Regions from separate parts of the Homo sapiens genome. Here all the other regions are linked to region 1. Evidence: promoter capture Hi-C in human tissues and cell types (Jung and others, 2019). All regions are on one chromosome and are shown on one strand. Each heading gives the region's core, a stretch centred on a gene start or on the middle of the fragment in contact. The rest is flanking DNA. Distances are from core to core; before and after follow the strand shown.

Evidence for each region. The method cuts DNA at HindIII sites, captures the fragments that hold promoters and counts their contacts. A contact is called where the count stands out against the background at its distance.
Region 2: a contact is called between the fragment with the promoter of ZNF773 here and a fragment that was not itself captured in region 1, in 2 of the 25 tissues and cell types used here (lymphoblastoid cells and spleen).
Region 3: the fragment with the promoter of ZNF549 here is called in contact with a fragment that was not itself captured in region 1 in 5 of the 25 tissues and cell types used here (IMR-90 fibroblasts, mesenchymal stem cells, pancreas and 2 more).
Region 4: a contact is called between the fragment with the promoter of ZNF550 here and a fragment that was not itself captured in region 1, in 4 of the 25 tissues and cell types used here (dorsolateral prefrontal cortex, heart right ventricle, pancreas and 1 more).
Region 5: the fragment with the promoter of ZNF530 here is called in contact with a fragment that was not itself captured in region 1 in 3 of the 25 tissues and cell types used here (adrenal gland, dorsolateral prefrontal cortex and spleen).
Region 6: a contact is called between the fragment with the promoter of ZNF776 here and a fragment that was not itself captured in region 1, in 1 of the 25 tissues and cell types used here (small bowel).

Annotation. Positions count from the first base shown.
Region 1 is chr19:58,269,322-58,272,060 of GRCh38, forward strand. All of the region lies in intron 1 of ZNF8-DT (ZNF8 divergent transcript), which reads right to left. It also overlaps a transcript of ZNF544 not described here. Among named protein-coding and RNA genes, the nearest start is that of ZNF8-DT, 8.1 kb to the right of the region's middle. The HindIII fragment of the contact is 7,344 bases long and covers 1-2,739 here.
Region 2 is chr19:57,498,572-57,501,310 of GRCh38, forward strand. It overlaps ZNF773 (zinc finger protein 773), which reads left to right and starts at 1,367. Exons shown (of 4, transcript NM_198542.3): 1 at 1,367-1,542. The coding sequence starts at 1,510. The HindIII fragment of the contact is 9,164 bases long and covers 1-2,739 here.
Region 3 is chr19:57,526,019-57,528,757 of GRCh38, forward strand. It overlaps ZNF549 (zinc finger protein 549), which reads left to right and starts at 1,338. Exons shown (of 4, transcript NM_001199295.2): 1 at 1,338-1,588. The coding sequence starts at 1,556. The HindIII fragment of the contact is 19,998 bases long and covers 1-2,739 here.
Region 4 is chr19:57,558,502-57,561,240 of GRCh38, forward strand. ZNF550 (zinc finger protein 550) reads right to left here and starts at 1,362. Exons shown (of 4, transcript NM_001397372.1): 1 at 1,155-1,362. The coding sequence starts at 1,181. It overlaps LOC124904781 (a long non-coding RNA gene), which reads left to right and starts at 1,441. Exons shown (of 2, transcript XR_007067357.1): 1 at 1,441-1,617. RefSeq lists enhancers at 404-483, 628-1,492, 934-983, 1,470-2,669, 1,614-1,723. The HindIII fragment of the contact is 8,093 bases long and covers 1-2,739 here.
Region 5 is chr19:57,598,538-57,601,276 of GRCh38, forward strand. It overlaps ZNF530 (zinc finger protein 530), which reads left to right and starts at 1,348. Exons shown (of 4, transcript NM_001321981.2): 1 at 1,348-1,597; 2 at 2,191-2,242. RefSeq lists enhancers at 1,396-1,605, 1,696-1,815. The HindIII fragment of the contact is 9,316 bases long and covers 1-2,739 here.
Region 6 is chr19:57,745,395-57,748,133 of GRCh38, forward strand. It overlaps ZNF776 (zinc finger protein 776), which reads left to right and starts at 1,421. Exons shown (of 3, transcript NM_173632.4): 1 at 1,421-1,697. The coding sequence starts at 1,665. RefSeq lists an enhancer at 1,433-1,482. The HindIII fragment of the contact is 15,716 bases long and covers 1-2,739 here.

The DNA.
Region 1 (2,739 bases), core at 73-2,572:
CTATTCAGGAGGCTGAGGCAGGAGAATCGCTTGAACTCGAGAGGTAGAGGTTGCAGTGAGCTAAGATTGTGCCACTGCACTCCAGCCTTGGGCGACAAAGCGAGACTCTGTCTCAAAAAAAAACAAACAAAAAAAATGTCAGGGTCGGGCATGGTGGCTCACACCTGTAATCCCAGCTACTTGGGAGGCTGAGGTAGGAGAATTGCTTGAACCCAGGAGGTGGAGGTTGCAGTGAGCTAAGATTGTGCCACTGCACTCCAGCGTGGGCGACAAAGCGAGACTCTGTCTCAAAAAAAAAAAAAAAAAAAAAGATGGCAGGGCTGGCATGGTGGCTCACGCCTGTAATCCCAGCACTTTGGGAGACCGAGGCAGGTGGATCACTCTAGGTTAGGAGTTTGAGACCAGCCTGGCCAAGATGGTGAAACCCTGTCTCTACTAAAGATACAAAAATTAGCCAAGTGTGGTGATAAATGCCTGCAATCCCAGCTACTCAGGAGGCTGACGCAGGAGTATCACTTGAACCTGGGAGGCAGAGGTTGCAATGAGTCTAGATCATGCCACTGGACTCCAGCCTGGGCGACAGAATGAGACTCTGTCTCAAAACAGAGCAAATGGCATGGCAGAACCTTCTCTAGAGAAAATAGTTTTGAATCTAAGAAAGGAATAGCTTTAATCTAGAAAAGGAATAGGGCAAGAAAAGGAATGTTTATTCACCCATAACTTAAAAAAAAAGGTAATTTTAATTGAAGGCTTCAAGGTAAATTGTGCTCAAACTATACAAATTCTGCTAGATGGTTATAGTTCCTATGTGAAGGTAACTTTAGAAAGTAGTGTTCACTTGACACTGATGTGAGTAATTCTTGCTGGAGGGGGCAAAAAGCTCATGAAATTTGAATAAAGGAGGAGGAGATGCAGTCAGATTGTTGATTGACCCTTCAGGGAATGGCATTTGCATAGCTGTGACGTGAACCCTAGGTATTGGCTTTTTTTTTCTTTTTTTTTGAGAAGGAGTCTCTGTTGCCCAGTCTGGAGTGCAGTGGCGCGATCTTGGCTCACTGTAACCTCCGCCTCCCGGGTTCAAGCAATTCTCCTGCCTCAGCCTCCTGAGTAGCTGGGATTACAGGCACGTGCCACCACGCCCAGCTAATTTTTGTATTTTTAGTAGACACAGGGTTTCACCATGTTGGTCAGGATGGTCTCCAACTCCTCACCTTGTGATCCGCCCACCTTGGCATCCCAAAGTGCTGGGATTACAGGGATGAGCCATTGCACCCGGCCTGTATTGGCTTTTAATTTTTAGGAAGTAACACATGGCTGTGACCTGACAACTTCATAGTGGCCGTAGGGTAGGGCACTGTTGTCATTATTCCTGTCACTGACAATGTCAGCCCCACCTGCAGATGTGGGAGAGTAGATGGGGAAAGTAGTAGTGGAGAGTAGAGGTTTCCCTTACCATCCTTTTAGGAAGTAGGCTTTTAAACATGATATGTAAGTTTATTTAGAAGATGAAAATTAAAGCTTGAAATGTAATATGAGAGGAATTGGCAGCGGATGTGAGTCAGATCCTCACCTGTCAGAGCAGGAAGTTAGTGAAAACTAAAGATGATTGGCTGGATGCGGTGGCTTATGCCTGTAATCCCAGCACTTTGGGAGGCTGAGGTGGGTGGATCACCTGAGGTCAGGAGTTTGAGACCAGCCTGGCCAACATGGTGAAACTCTGTCTCTACTAAAAATACAAAGATTAGCCCAGCGTGGTGGTGGGCACCTGTAATCCCAGCTACTCAGGAGGCTGAGGCAGGAGAATCGTTTGAACCCAGGAAGTGGAGGTTGCAGTGAGCTGAGATTGCATCACTGTGCTCCAGCCTGGGCAACAGAGTCAGACTCCGTCTCCAGGAAAAAAAAAAAAAAAAAGACTAAAGATGATCAAAGATTAGAATTACGGAGGTGTCCTCAAGAAGAATTGGAACAGATATGGTTAAAAGTGGCTGGAGGTGGGTGCAGTGGATATGGTGGTGCACACCTGTAATCCCAGTGCTTTGGGAGGCTGAGGCAGGTGGATCACTTGAGCCTAAGAGTTGGAGACCAGCCTGGGCAACATGGCGAGACCTGGTCTCTACAAAAAATACAAAAATTAGCCGGGCATAGTAGCACATACCTGAAGTCCCAGCTACTCAGGAAGCTGAGTTGGGAGGATTCTTTGACCCCAGGAGGTTGAGGCTGCAGTTAGCTGTTATTATATCACTGCACTCCAGCCTATGTGACAGTGTGAGACCCTATCTCAAAAAAAAAGTGATGTCGGGAGGCTGAGAGGATGAGTGACTGGGGCAGGAGATGAGTACTTTCCCTTTTAAGCCCATAGCATTTAATTCCCTGGTGGTTCACTTCTTATTTGGATAACTAACAAATTATTTCAAATGTGTGCCTATAGGTGAGAGAAGCAATGGTACATGAGGAGGTAAGCATTTGATTTGTGGGATTATGAACAACTGTCCTACTCTCCTTTTGATTCGGTGTCTCTGTATTAGTGATCTGACAATTTAAAAAATCAAGCAAGAGCAGGCTGGGCGCAGTGGCTCATGCCTGTAATCCCAGCACTTTGGGAGGCCGAGGCGGGCGGATCACTTGAGGTCAGGAGTTGAAGACCAGCCTGGCCGACATGGTGAAACCCTGTCCCCACTAAAAATGCAAAAATTATCTGGGCGTGGTGGTGGGTGCCTGTAATGCCAGCTACTTGGGAGG
Region 2 (2,739 bases), core at 117-2,616, 770 kb before region 1:
CCACACCCGGCTAATTTTTTGTATTTTTTAGTACAGACGGGGTTTCACCGTGTTAGCCAGGATAGTCTCGATCTCCTGACCTTGTGATCCACCCGCCTTGGCCTCCCAAAGTGCTGGGATTACAGGCGTAAGCCACCACCTCCCTACTCTTTCTACCCAATAAATATGAAGGTCTGTGGAAGCTCAGGGCCCTTCCTCACTAGAAGCAAGAAGCCCCCTGACCCCTTCTTTAAAACAGATTTATTTTGCCTTTGTTTTCATTTCTGCATTCGTTCCCCTTCGTTCAGTCCCATAGTAACTGTGACAGGAATATGGAGCAGAAATGGATGAAGGGGAGAAATTGAGGGGGAGTTGGCTTATGGGTTTGCTGCCTGTTGTTGTGCCTTTACACCAATGTTGGGTCCTTGAGGAAGGAAAGAACACAAATGAGAATGGGGTGAAAGAGGAACGTAAATCCTTGGGCTCCCCTACTCTCTCATCACCTACATCCAGAATTCAGAGCCTTTTCTTATTATCATACATCAGGCATTAATATTGGGTGTCCCCTTGCCAAAGGAAATTTAGGAAGGTATACGTGGCTTTGCCCAGTGAAACCTCTTTATGGTGGCCCTGAAGATCCTCTTCAAGTCCTTCAAAAGAAGGAAAGATTGGAGTATCAGCTGCAGGAAACTGAAATCCAGGCCCATCTCCAATTACAACAGGTTCCAGATGAGTCCGAGAGTTCTCGACACTCATTTCTCCTCCATCTCCTACTCCATCATCTCCATCTCCATCTTCTCCATCATCTCCATCTTCATCATCATCTCCATCTCCATCATCTCCATGTCCATCATCATCTCTATCTCCATCATCTCCATCTCCATCATCTCCATCTCCATCATCATCTCTATCTCCATCATCATCTCTATCTCCATCATCTCCATCTCCATCATCTCCATCATCTCCATCTCCATCTCCTACTCCATCATCTCCATCTCCATCTTCTCCATCATCTCCATCTTCTCCATCATCTCCATCTTCTCCATCATCTCCATCTTCATCATCTCCATTTCCATCATCTCCATCTCCATCATCATCTCTATCTCCATCATCTCCATCTCCATCATCTCCATCATCTCCATCTCCATCTCCATCTCCATCATCTACCGTCTCCAATCTCCATCTCCGAAGTTATGCCCACTTCCTCGAAGTTTGGAGCCACGCGAACTACACTGCCCAGAAGGCGCCGCGCCGTGAGCCGCGATGCTTGGCCAATGAAAAGAGGTCTACCCGAGAGTGCGACGCGCAATGGGCGGGACTTCCGGCGTCTCCCCTCGGCGGTTGCTTTCGCTGCCCTCAAGAGAACTCAGCTTGCCGGAAGCTGGTTGTTCGCTGCGGCGACCAGCTCCGGAAAGCGCGGTGGGGACGCGCTGTGTTCTCGCAGCTCAGAGGCGGGTCTGAGGCTCGGTGGCGGCGCCCAGGGTGGCCCGGGCCCTTTCCTCGGTCGTTGTCTCACCGCCACAGGCTCCGATGGCGGCGGCCACGCTGAGGGACCCCGCTCAGGTGAGCGCCGCGTCCTCCCGGCCTCCCCCGAATCCTAAAGCCCTGTGAGGGCCGCCTGCTCAGGTCCCCGGGTGCAGAACTGTGGGGCGTTCGTGGGCGGCGTCCCGTTTCTGACACGCAGTGTGATGGGGTGGCAATGGAGGGCAAGGGGCCCGGCTCGCAAAGATGTGAGGCGCATTCAGCGAGTCCCGAACCTGAGGCCTCCTGGTGTCTGTAGTGGGCAGCTTGGGAAGGGACGAGGCGCGTGTCGAGCGACAGCCCGAGCAGCTGCGCTTTCATCCTGAGGGGGCCACAGTGGCCGCGGAGGGCTGGAGACAGAAGAGTGACAAGATCTGTTTCTCAAAGTTTGCCAAAGGCCCTTCAAGTCAAAACAGACTGGGGTGGGGGTGAGGCGGGTGAAGACAGACCTGTGAGTAGGTAAATTCAGTAGACTAGTGGAGAGTCTACTGGGACTGGGCCACAGAGGAGGGGAAGTGATCAGATCTTGGATGGATTTCAAAAACTGAACAGACGGGAATTCCTGTTGCATCAGATGTGACTGTGAAAGAAAGTAGGGAATGAAGAGCCATTCTGGATTTTTATTTGTATTTTTGTTTGTTCCTGAATATCAGGAAGGATGGAGATGGGTAAGGCTGTGCAGGGAATAGGTTTTGGGCATGGTGATCCTGAGATGTCCCAGAGTGGAGGTGTCATGTCCACATGAGCAGCTGGAAGGCCTGGGGCTCGTATTTAGGAGGGAGAATCTTAAAGTTTTCTTTCAGATGGTCCCTGAGGTGAGGGAAGGGAGAGATGGGCCTGTAGGATGGGGCAGCCTCTACAGCCTGGAGTTTCGTGGTCCGAAGTGATTTTGTCTGGTGCCTGCAGGAATGGAGGGTTATAGAGTATGAACACCCAGGACTGGATGGAGACCGCAGTGTTGGGTAGTATATAGGTTTGCCACTCCAGGCTTAGTAGTTCCTCATGTCCAGTCCATATGGAGAAAAGGAAAGGTCAGCCAGGCTGGTGGAGCAGCACCTTTGGTGCCTAAGTTTCCCTAGCTATCAGCACAGGTGGGATGATCAACTGCTCCAGTAGAAGGGAGGGCTCTCAGCAGGATGGTCTTCAGGGGAGTATATAGCAGGCAGCCAGATTGCCAAAAGGAAACCCACATTGTCTTTCTTTTTCTTTCTTTTTTTTTTTTTTTTGAGACAGAATTCT
Region 3 (2,739 bases), core at 88-2,587, 740 kb before region 1:
GCTGGCAATAAAAGGACTCCAGAATTAGTCTCAGAGTGTGGCATTTCTCTATAACTCGCTCGGTTACAACACTATAGCCAAAGATTACATTCATAAAGATATTTTTACAATATAGGTGTCTTATTTAATATGACTCCAATCTAAATGGTAATTTTTCTAACCTTTCTTAAGTAATTATAAAATGTCAAAATTATAAACAATTAAAAACTAAAGAGAAATGAAGACAATGGATAGCAACAAAAGCTAATTGCTAAATATGGGGGAAAAAAGCCAGGCATGGTGGCTCATGCTTGTAATCCCAGCACTTTAAGGCAGGCGAATCACTTGAGGCCGGTTCTAGACCAGCCTGGCCAACATGGTGAAACCCTGTCTCTACTAAAAATACAAAAATTATCCGGGGGTGGTGGCGCATGCCTGTAGTCCCGGCTACTCGGGAGGCTGAGGCAGGAGAATCGCTTGAACCTGGGAGGTGGAGGTTACAGTGAGCAGAGATTGCACCACTGTACTCCAGTCTGGGCGACAGAGTGAGACTCTGTCAAAAAAAAAAAAGGAAAAAAAGAAAAGAAAAAGAAGATATAATGTTTCTGCAATCTCATTTCAGTTCCACTTATGATAATAGATACATTATGTAATTTAAGTCACTAACACTTGAGGGCAAAAAAACAGAATAAACACAAACGTGTGGGATAAGGGGATGCTGACCCCACTGTTAGTGATCACCTTGGTTGGAGACCCAGGTTTTATCATACAGATGAAGCCTGCAGGTAGCAAGTTTCAGAGAAATAGATTGTAAATGTTTCTTATCAGACTTAAGGTCTATGCTGATGTTATTGCTGTAGGGGTAGAATGAGGCATGTCCAACCCCTTCTTCCATAATGGCCTGAACTAGATTTTCAGGTTAACTCTATAATGCTGAGAGGAGGGGGTCCATTCAGATAGTTGGGAGGCCTTTGAATTTTATTTTTGGTTATAGTTTCTACATTAAAAAAAAGAAAAAAATTAAGGGTCGCGTCAATTCTCAATTGTCAACATTTTTAATGTATTGTATGCAATATATGTCAACTTTTGTGTTGAGAAATGAAGATCAAATCGTATTCTTTTATCCTGTGTATGTAATAGGCTTTGCTGACCCTAGTTTGATGGGTTTTTTCCTTTGTCCTCTCTTTCTTGGATTGAGTCCTCACAGCGCGGCGGACTGCGGCGTGGTAGGAACTACACCACCCAGAATACTGTGCGCCGAGCGTGCCGGGGCCTTAGACCAATCATTGCCCAGGAAAGGGGCACCTCCGTAAGTGCGCAATACGCCAGAATCTTCCGGCGTCTTTCCGGTGGTGGTCGTTTTTGCTGCCTGCGAGCGCGTCCGCGGGCTGGGCGTTTCCGGCTCGCTGGGTCCGGGCCAGGTAACTGGAGCCGGAAACCGGTGGAGGTGGTGTCCGCCCGCAGAGGAGCTTGCCTGGTCTCGGTCTGAGCGTCGCCCAGCGATTTGCCACCGCACGCACGCCGGATCCCGGGCTTTACCGCCCGCCTTTCCAGGCCCCGCCCCGCCTAAAGTCCCATGGCCGAGGCAGCGCTAGTGATTACGCCGCAGGTGAGAGCGGAGTCCTCGGATCCTCACCTGGGTCCTGAGGCCCCGGACTGGGGTCACCTGCGTGGGTCTCTGCAGTTCAGGCCTCTTCTCCAGGACAGCGAGGAGTTCTGGGTGGGGTCCTCAGAGCTGACGGGCGGTGAGGTGAAGAAGGGAGAGCGTTGCGTACCGTGGGGGCTGCACGCGCAGAGCCTGGGAGGTGCGCCGGGGTCGCGAGCATTCGGAAACTTGGGGGCGGACCTGTGTCTGCAGGGAGCAGAGAGAATGAGGAGAAGAAGGCACGGCTGCCATGGCAGCCTGAGCAACCGGGGTTTTTAATTCTGAGTCTTTGGGAGCCATGGAGGGTTGTGAACTAAAGGAGAACACGATCTGAGTGAGGGTCTGAAAAAATATTTCAAAGGCAATGAGTGGAGAAAACAGACTGTTACGGAGTGATGGGGGTGGACGCAGGGATACTGGTGAGGAGACTGCTGTAGTAGGCTCCAGGAGGATTATGGTGGATTCTGGACCAGACGGGTTGCTGAAGGGACCTAAGTAATAAGAATCTTGGTAGATCTTAAAGGTAAAGCCAGCAGGATTTTCTGCTCCATCATTTGTGCCTATGAGCAAAAGTGGGAGTGAAGTATGATCCCAAGTTTTTCTTTTACCTGAACATCTGGAAGAGTTGACAAAGAAATCTGGTGAGGGAGCAGGTTTCAGGGAAATAGTAGGAGTTGAATTTTGGACGTGGTGTTTCTAAATTGCCACAGAGTGAAGTTGTTACATGGGCAGTTGGAATCATAAGTAGAAAATTCATGGGAGGGGACTGACTCAGTGATGTGTAAATGGAGACAGGCTGGGGCGTAGACTCAAGCCAAGCCTTAAATTTAGACGGGAAATCTTAAGGTTTTACTTTGAGATGAAGAGAGGGAGGGCTGAGGCTGGAGGCTGGGAAAGTGTGGGTCGGCCTTGGCGAAGCTGCCTGCAGATAGGAGGGCCATGGGGTTCCGGGGGTACTTCCAAAGGGAATGTGTAAGGAATACACACTGCATAGGATGGATTTGAGGGTGGGACACTGTGTAGAGTCACCATTCAGAAGACTTGGCGAACTGTTCACTCTATGTGGAGCCAGAGAAAGGTCAGCCAGACTAGCAGAGAAGCCCAAGCCCAGCAAG
Region 4 (2,739 bases), core at 112-2,611, 710 kb before region 1:
TCTGGGTCTTGGGAGAGGGAAGCAACAGGCACTCACATTCCAGGGTTGGAAAAAGATCCTAAACAGGCAACTAAATAAATGAGTAAGGCAATGTCAGATGGCCTTAAAGATTCAGATGACAAGAAAACAGAGCAAGGAGACCAAAGAGACTCTGGTCAGCTTTAAACGGTGCAACAGACGAGACCTCTTTAAGCAGCGGACACCAGAGGGAGTCAGAAATAAAGCAAAGGAGGGAGAGGTGGATGAGAAATTAACAACTACGACAGGAGCTGACAGTAATCTGGGCTATCATGAAAGTAATCAGAGTGACTGCTAGAGAGTAACCCTGGGCCTCATGTGTTATCTCCAAAGGGACACTACATCCTGCATACCATCGCCACTGAACATTTTAATGGACTCGTTTTTCACCTGTAACTAAATGTCTTAAACAGGAAAATATACTGTTAGTTGCAACCCAGCGTCCCTTGCCCTAAACTGAAAGACAAATTCCTCAGCCTGCCCTACCACCTTTTCTGCCCTGGCATAGCAGCAACCGCAGAAACGCTCCTCCCACCTCTTTCAGCCGCTGCCCTTCGTGTTGTAGAGACAGGAGGCCAAGGAGGCCAGAGGGTCAGACTCCTGCTGGGGTTGAGTCTCCAAACCTAGCACAGGCCCAGGGAGCAGCTCCGGAAACAACATCCTGAGCGACGTCCCCGGACCGTGCTGTGCACTGAGACGGACACACACACATCACCCAGGGAGCCGTTCAAGCTTCCTCAACCCCGGGGGGGGGAAGAGTAAATATTTCTACTTTGCGCGCGCAAAAATGAAGGACGAGGACAGTAACGGGACTTGTTCAAGGTCGCAGGCCCGAGAAAGGACATGGTTGGAAGAGCCACGAGGAGGACTGCGGTCGCTCCTCTCACCTGTGAGGGGTTCCGGGACCCTAAAAGCCCTATTTCATACCACAACGCCGCGCACCCCAGAAACGGGGACGCTCCCCACGCCACCGCGGGCCTGCATTCCGGACCCGGGACCGCGCGACCCCCTTCTAGGCCTCTAAGAAGCAACGGCAGGGACTGCACTGAGGACGACCCTGAAACGCCGTCCTTCCGCTCGTCGGGCCCGGGACACTGAGGCCGGGTGGCCGCGGGGAGCCGAGCCAGTCTGCTCACCTGCGCTGCGTCCTTCGTCTCCGCCATCCGACCGTTGGCAGGACGAGGCCGCGTGGGGCAGCTCCCACGGGCTCAAAACCCTACCCCGGGTCCTACAACGGTGCGGAGGTGAGCCCCAGTCGCCCTACCATCCTTCCCAGCACAGTTCTGAGAGCGCGGACCAACACGCCCCACCACAAACGTCCACGCCAGCGAGGCCGGAAGTCCCGCCCCTGTGTCGCGGTCGCCTGCCACGCCTTTTCCTGCGCCGGCCCACTGCCTTCTAGGTAATGTAGTCTTGTCCCGTAAGAGGCCAGGCTTGGCTCTTTTTCCTTTTTTATTATGCACACCATGTTTCTGTATATCTCAGATGATCTTAGCGGAGCAAGTGTACACACTGGATTGTAAATTTTTAAAACTTCCTATTATTCGGATGCCTCAACGTCCCTACAAGCAGGCTGTGAGCACTCGCCCAGGCACCCAGGTAAACGAGTTTGATAAAGGGGGCCCTGCCACGAGGTTCCCCGCTTGCCTCCTCTGAGTGACCCAGTGACATTCCCATGTACCAGTAAAATCTTACGCCTGGTTACTGCGTCCTCCTCCACCCTGACGCCAGGCACTGTCCCTGGGACTGGCGTGGATCTGGACCCCCGCTTCCCGCGTGGAGCCATTCCCGGGACATGCTCGTGGGGTTCCGTCTGTGGGACGTCTGCCTCCTCTGTGTGGACTGGTGTTGCCCAGGGCTCAGGAAGGTCTCCAGGGGCCGTGAGTCCCCGCCCGCTTCCGGAGTCCAGCTTCGTGACACCATCGTGAGAAAGAATGCAGGGATGAGTCAAAATGAAGCCAAAGGCAAGAAGCTTTTATTGGGAAGAAAAAGTACACATTTTTGAGAAGAGTGTACTTTTCCCAAGAGAAGAGGGAAATGCGGACGTACGAGGGAGAGCGGGTCATGCACAATGGAGTTTGGGTTTCTAATTTTATGGGCTCTTCTAATTAGGGGGTGGGATAATCATGAGGTTTTTCTAGGAAAAGGTGGGAATTTCTTAGAATTGGGGTGCCAACCATTTTTATACTAAATGTGGGCGTGCTTGGATTGGCCTGGCACTGGTGGGTGTGTGATTTAATGTGGCAATGAGTGTATAATTAGGTCTGGGGTAGGAAATGGGTCAAATCTAGCGTCATGGGACAGCCTAGCCCCAATCCTGTTTGTTAAGGTCTCATCAGCCCAGTCTTCTTGTTGGAGTAGCTAATTTTAACAGCTTGATGTTTTCCCCCTTCTCCTGTGACCACACAGCATTCCTATTTTGTGGGTGTTTCTTTAATTAGAGAGTGGAATAATTATTAGGTATTCTGGAAAAGGAGGGAAATTCAGGGACCCACCTGGTTACTGCCCCCTTTCTCTCTTATTTGGCTTTGCCCAGAAGAGTCATGGACATGTCATCCTGACTGGGATTTTGGCCATTCTTTCTCTTATTTTGGGTTTTCTGTTATCCTATGGTTTCTTTGCCTAGTTCTTGTTTTTATTTGTTGTTCGAATTTTTCCATCCTCCTGCAACCACCCAGTGCTATTCCTATATCACTGTGAGTATAAACACCCTTTAACCTT
Region 5 (2,739 bases), core at 98-2,597, 670 kb before region 1:
GAGTCTGTAGACAATGTAAAGGAGATCTGGCCTCATCAGTGTTAGGGGCCAACATCCAATGCTTTGAGAGCCAAGATAGAACAAAAAGGCAGAGAAAGAGCAAGTTACTCTCTTCTTGCCCTGGATCATCCACCTTCTGTTTTCCAACATTAAAGTTCTTGGATCTTGGGCCTTTGGACTCTGGAACATACAAGAATGACCCTCACCCAGTTCTCAGGCCTTCAGCCTCCAACTGGGAATTTCACCATAGGCTCCCTTGGTTTTCAGGCCTTCAGATGCAGACTGAATGATACCACCCACCTTCGTGTCTTACCAGGTTGCAAAAGGTATATCCTGGGACTTCTTAGCCTCCATAACTGGATGAGCCAAGTCCCATAATAAATCCCCTCTTGTACATCTATGTATCCTATTGGTTCTGTGTTTCTCTGGAGAATCCTGACTAATACAATAGGTTTCAGTAATTTTCATTTCACAACTGTTTTTCTAAGATGATCTCAACTCCCCATGCAAGCACTGTCCCTGCAGTAACAGTATCAATGATCAAAATTTCCCATCAAAGAGATGAAAGCTAGGTGTCCCAAACCTTTATTCTGGTATTCTGATGTCCCCTTTGCACAAGTGCTCTGACTGTGAACACTACAGACACTGTTCTACTTTAAAATGGCATATGCTAAGTGGCTCTTCTGTTTAGAAAGTTGCTACAATCCTAAAAGAAGCATATCTAAGAATATGGAGGAAGAAATATTATATGAATACAACACTGTTCCTTACAGGGCTAGACACACTCACCGATTACACAGGCAGGAGAGGCATTTTCTGTGAGACAAAATTCCTCTTTCGTCCTCCAGCTTCGGTGCGATCTAACGGATGTTTTATCATTCCTGTCATGGCGCTATGTAAACTCTATTTCCCTTATTCCTTACTGAGCATAATGAAACTCACAAAGCTGACTCTAACGTTCTACTTTACATAAATGTGTGGAGAAAGAAGGTAATGTTTACTAGGCTCTCGCCAAGGGTAGAGGCATTTTGTATCTGAATAACTCTGACTACCTAGGTGACTAGTTGTACACAATACCCTCCAAAAATCTCTGTATGGTACCTTAAAAAAGCAGCGAAGCTCCTCCCTTGTCCAAGGAGGCTGGAGACACCACCTCTCAGCCTTCCCCTCCACCTTTCTCCATAGCAACGGGGTCATTCCTCCCTGAGGTCCAGGAGAAGGGCGACCTCTGCCAGCCCAAGAAGCGGTGAGAACTACATTACCCAGAGGCCCGTGAGCCAGGTTCTTGGCGTGGAGCCAATGAGGCTCAGGGGAGGGACATTTCCGCTCTGTCCAACTTGTCGGAGCGGAACTTCCGGCGTCCTCCCTGTGGCGGGCACTTTGGCTTGTGTCAGTTCCATCCGCGGGTGCCGGATCTGGACCTAGGTGCTGACAGCGAGAAGGCGCGAGGAGAGTCGTTTTCTCAGCTGCACAGCCGGGGCCTGACGGTCGCCGGCGGTGGTGACAGCTTTGCTCTTGTCTCCGCCCGGATCGTCCACCGCTCCCGGCCCGCTCCGCCCAGAGTCCGATGGCGGCGGCACTGAGGGCCCCGACCCAGGTGAGCGCTGCGTCCTCCCGGCCTCCTCTGCCCTCCCCACCCGAAACTGAGGGACGCGTGAAGGGTTTTCTGCAGCCCGGACCGCACTGTCCGGCACAGTGAGGCGCTGGTGCTGGATCTCGTTTCTGGTAGTGTGGCAGGGAGCGGGAGAGCGACACGGTCAGGGGGCTGCGCGGGCAACAGCTTGGAGCTGCGCCTGAGCCGGGAGGCTGGGGAGACCCAGGCCGGCCTCACGCGTGCAGGTAGCAGAGGGTGGGGCAGCGCCGCGCTGCATTGGCCCCACTGAGTTTCACCAGCACACTGAGGGCCACAGCGCGTAGGACAGAAGAGGGGCACGGCCCCAGTCACGCTTCTAAAAGTTTCACAAAAGCTGTTCAGAGGAACGCGCTGGAAGGGCAGTGATGATAGCAGGCATGGAGGGACCTAGTCTTTTTACGAGGTCACAAAGCTGGTAAAAGTCAGCACCAAGGACTGACACCCAGATACAAAGCAGTCATCCCTGGACACCTGGCTCTGGTGTTCCACATTGGAACCAGAAGTCCATGGAGCCACACTTTGGTCACCTGCCTCTCAGAACATGTTTCCTCCCACAGATTGCCACTAGTACTTACAGGTCCGTAAGAAGCACTTGAAGACCCTACAAGGGTAAGTGGAGGAAATCCAGAAGCTCATTGATTCCAGCAATGGGATCTCTAGGATTGGGACTGTGGTGACCTGGGATTCTTTACTTACCGCTTTTCCAGGCCTTGAGCCTAGGGACTCTGAACAAAAATATGTCCAGGGTGAGTATTATATGAGGTGGTGCCTGTTGCTGGCAAATAATAGGATGAATGTGGAAGTTTGTCCCAGAGATAAGTACAGGTGTTTGGAGCTGCTTGGAGGTGAGGCTGAGCTGGTTAAGAGAACCTCAAGTCTCATTTCCTTCTCATGGGAACAGAGAGCAGAGGTACAGGAGTTAGAAACTAAATGGCTGTCTCAGATGTCTTTGTTCTGGAGATGATGGCAGCAATGAAGATTTGGAGCAGAAGAGGGAGGTGATCTTCCCCAGGCCTCATGAGGCTCCTGTGGCTGAGCACAGACAACAGACTGTGGGTTTAAGGGAGTTGGTAGCAATACCAAAGAGGAAAGAGGAGACTACTGCA
Region 6 (2,739 bases), core at 171-2,670, 520 kb before region 1:
CATAGGTTTTTTAAGAACTGAGCGGCTGGGTACAGTGGCTCATGCCTTTAATCCCAGCACTTTGGGAGGCCGAGACAGGTGGATCACCTGAGGTTGAGAGTTCGAGACCAGCCTGACCAACATGGAGAAACCCCGTCTCTACTAAAAATACAAAATTAGCCAGGTATGGTGGCTCATGCCTGTAATCCCATCCATAACATTAATTTATTAGGCAAAACACTCCTTGCCATGGAAACAGAAATAAAGAATAGTCACAAAAAAAAAAAAAGAAAAGAAATAAATAAAGTCTGTTTTATCTAATACAAAAAAAAAAAAATAGCCACTTCCCAGCAATAACATGAACTCCTGGATTTAAGACACAACCAATATCAACAGGTGGAGAGCATCTTCTGCATACGTGCCCCACCTTTGAAAACTGCAGCCATTTATCACTACCAAAATAGCATTTCTTTCATTGGTCTTCCTGTAAGATTGATAAATCTTAGATAAATTAATCCAGAATTAATTGAATATAAGTTGGAATCTCAAGCGAGGGATACTAAGTGGATAAAAGTGTTGCTCAATGTACTGGACACTATGATTGATTTTATAGGCAGGAGAGTTGTCTTCTGTGGGAATCACAGACAGAGATTCAGCATGTATTCCTGCTTTAGGGAACACAACATTTCTCCTCTATCTTCCTTGTCTTGTCCTATCTGGATTAGTTCTCTCTTGTCCCTGACAGACTGAGAAACTGACTCTAATGCCTCAGAGTGCATTCATGTGAATTTATAACACAATAATGTTTATCAGCCTCTGCTGCCAGTACCGGGATTTTGCGACTGAAAGACTGTTCAAAACGTTATGATAATTTGGATTTTTAGTCTTTGGGGGCATCCTAAATAATAAGTTTAGCATCGGAGAGCTCGAGTTCCCCAAAATCTAAAATAATATTTTTTCAAATACTTGAGTGATCAGTTACAGACACTAATCTCCAAAAATCTCAATACGGGTTCTAAGGCTAGGTGAGACTATCCTCTACCCTAGAAGGACATGCACTTTAAGGACAGGCCGCTGAGATGGAGCTGGGCCTTTCCTGCAAGTAAGTGAACGTGATGGTAGGGTATACCTGACAGCATAGTTTGACAGGGGATATAGACTTTCAAGGAGAAAATAGACATGAAATAGATACATGCAGAAGTATAGTCAAATTGAGGGAAGATGACACTTAGGCCAGAGTAGTGTTTATTCACCACTCTGTGCAATCAAGCGCCTCTGAGAAGGCCTTCTTTACCGCCTTGGAACTGTCTTGGAACCTGAGGAAACTACATAACCCAGAAATCTCTGCGTCGAATGACAGCGCGTCAGAGCCAATGAGGGCTCAAAATAAAGGCGTTTCCGCGGAAACAGTATAAAGGTGGGACTTCCGGCGTCCTCTACTAGTGGCCATTTTGATTGGTGTTGGGTGTATTTTCCAGTGAGAGACCGCGGAGTGTTGGGTCGTGTAGAAGTGACTGAACCCAGAAGGTGGAGACGAGACGTTGTCCCGACTGCACAGAGGCTGCTCTGCAGCTCCTTAAAGGCGCTAGGCGTGACCCGCACCAAGGCCGGGATCGGGACCACCGTGCCCGGGTACCTGCACTGCTCGCCCCCTCCTTTCGACCCCGCTTTCCCCACCCAGTCGGATGGCGGCGGCCGCGCTGAGGCCCCCGGCTCAGGTAATTGTGGCGTCTTCCGTGCCCTCAGGTCACCTCATCTTTACCTAAGTCCAAAAGCAGAGAGGAAGCGGCGCCTGCTCAAGGTTTTACACCCTGAACCCGGCGTCGGGACACTGAGGCGCTCTCTATGGGCCCCCGTTTTTGACACCCGCGGGATGCGCTCAGGAGAGCTACAGGCACAGGGAGCGGTGCAGGCAAAGGCCTGGAGATGAACTGAGCCGAGAGGATCGTAACCTAGGGTCCACAGGCACCTGTCGGGAGCAAAGTGTGAGGCAGAGCTCCTCCTGGAAGAGCAGGCTGAGGACCGTGTATTCACCCTGAGAACGCTGGAAGCCATGGACAGCTTCCAACAAAGGAAGGAAAAGATCAATGTCCAGGCTTTAAAGGTTTCCCAAAGTCCAGTCGAAAAAGAACACAGGGGATGACTTTTGGGCCCTGGGAGGTTGAATTCTTGTTCAACCTCTACAGATCAGATAGGTGCTAAGAGATGACATTTTGTACTGAGGCGCTCAGTTCAGACAACCAACTCGCGTTTACCTAGTTACAGGGCCAAGAAAGAGTTCAGGGAGGCCTGAGCTTATCAAATCTCATCAGGGATACATTCTTGTAGCTTGTGCCTCTCCTCTCAGGAACTCCTGGCTGCAGAAGCACTTGCAGAACCTCCGCAGGGAAGCGGAGGGTGTTATTCCCTCACTGGCCCTAACTCCTATCCACATGCTCTTTAGATTGGGATGTCCTGGGATTCTTAGGTACCTTTTTTTTTTTTTTTTTAAGTTTTTTGATATGGGAACCCTGGAGGAACCTTAAACCCAGGATCCAAAGTCTGTGACACAGGATATATGGAGGTATTCCCATTTCTGTCAACCAGTATAAACATACTTGGAAGGTTAACCCAGGAGTTAGTACCAGGATGTGAAATGCTTAGAGGTGAAACTGACCAGAGGGAGGAGGTGATGTTGCCACAGTTTCATCTGGCTGTAGTCTCCTCTGGCTGTACAGTGGAGAACAGACTGTGGGGTTGAGAGAGGAGGAAATAAGATGA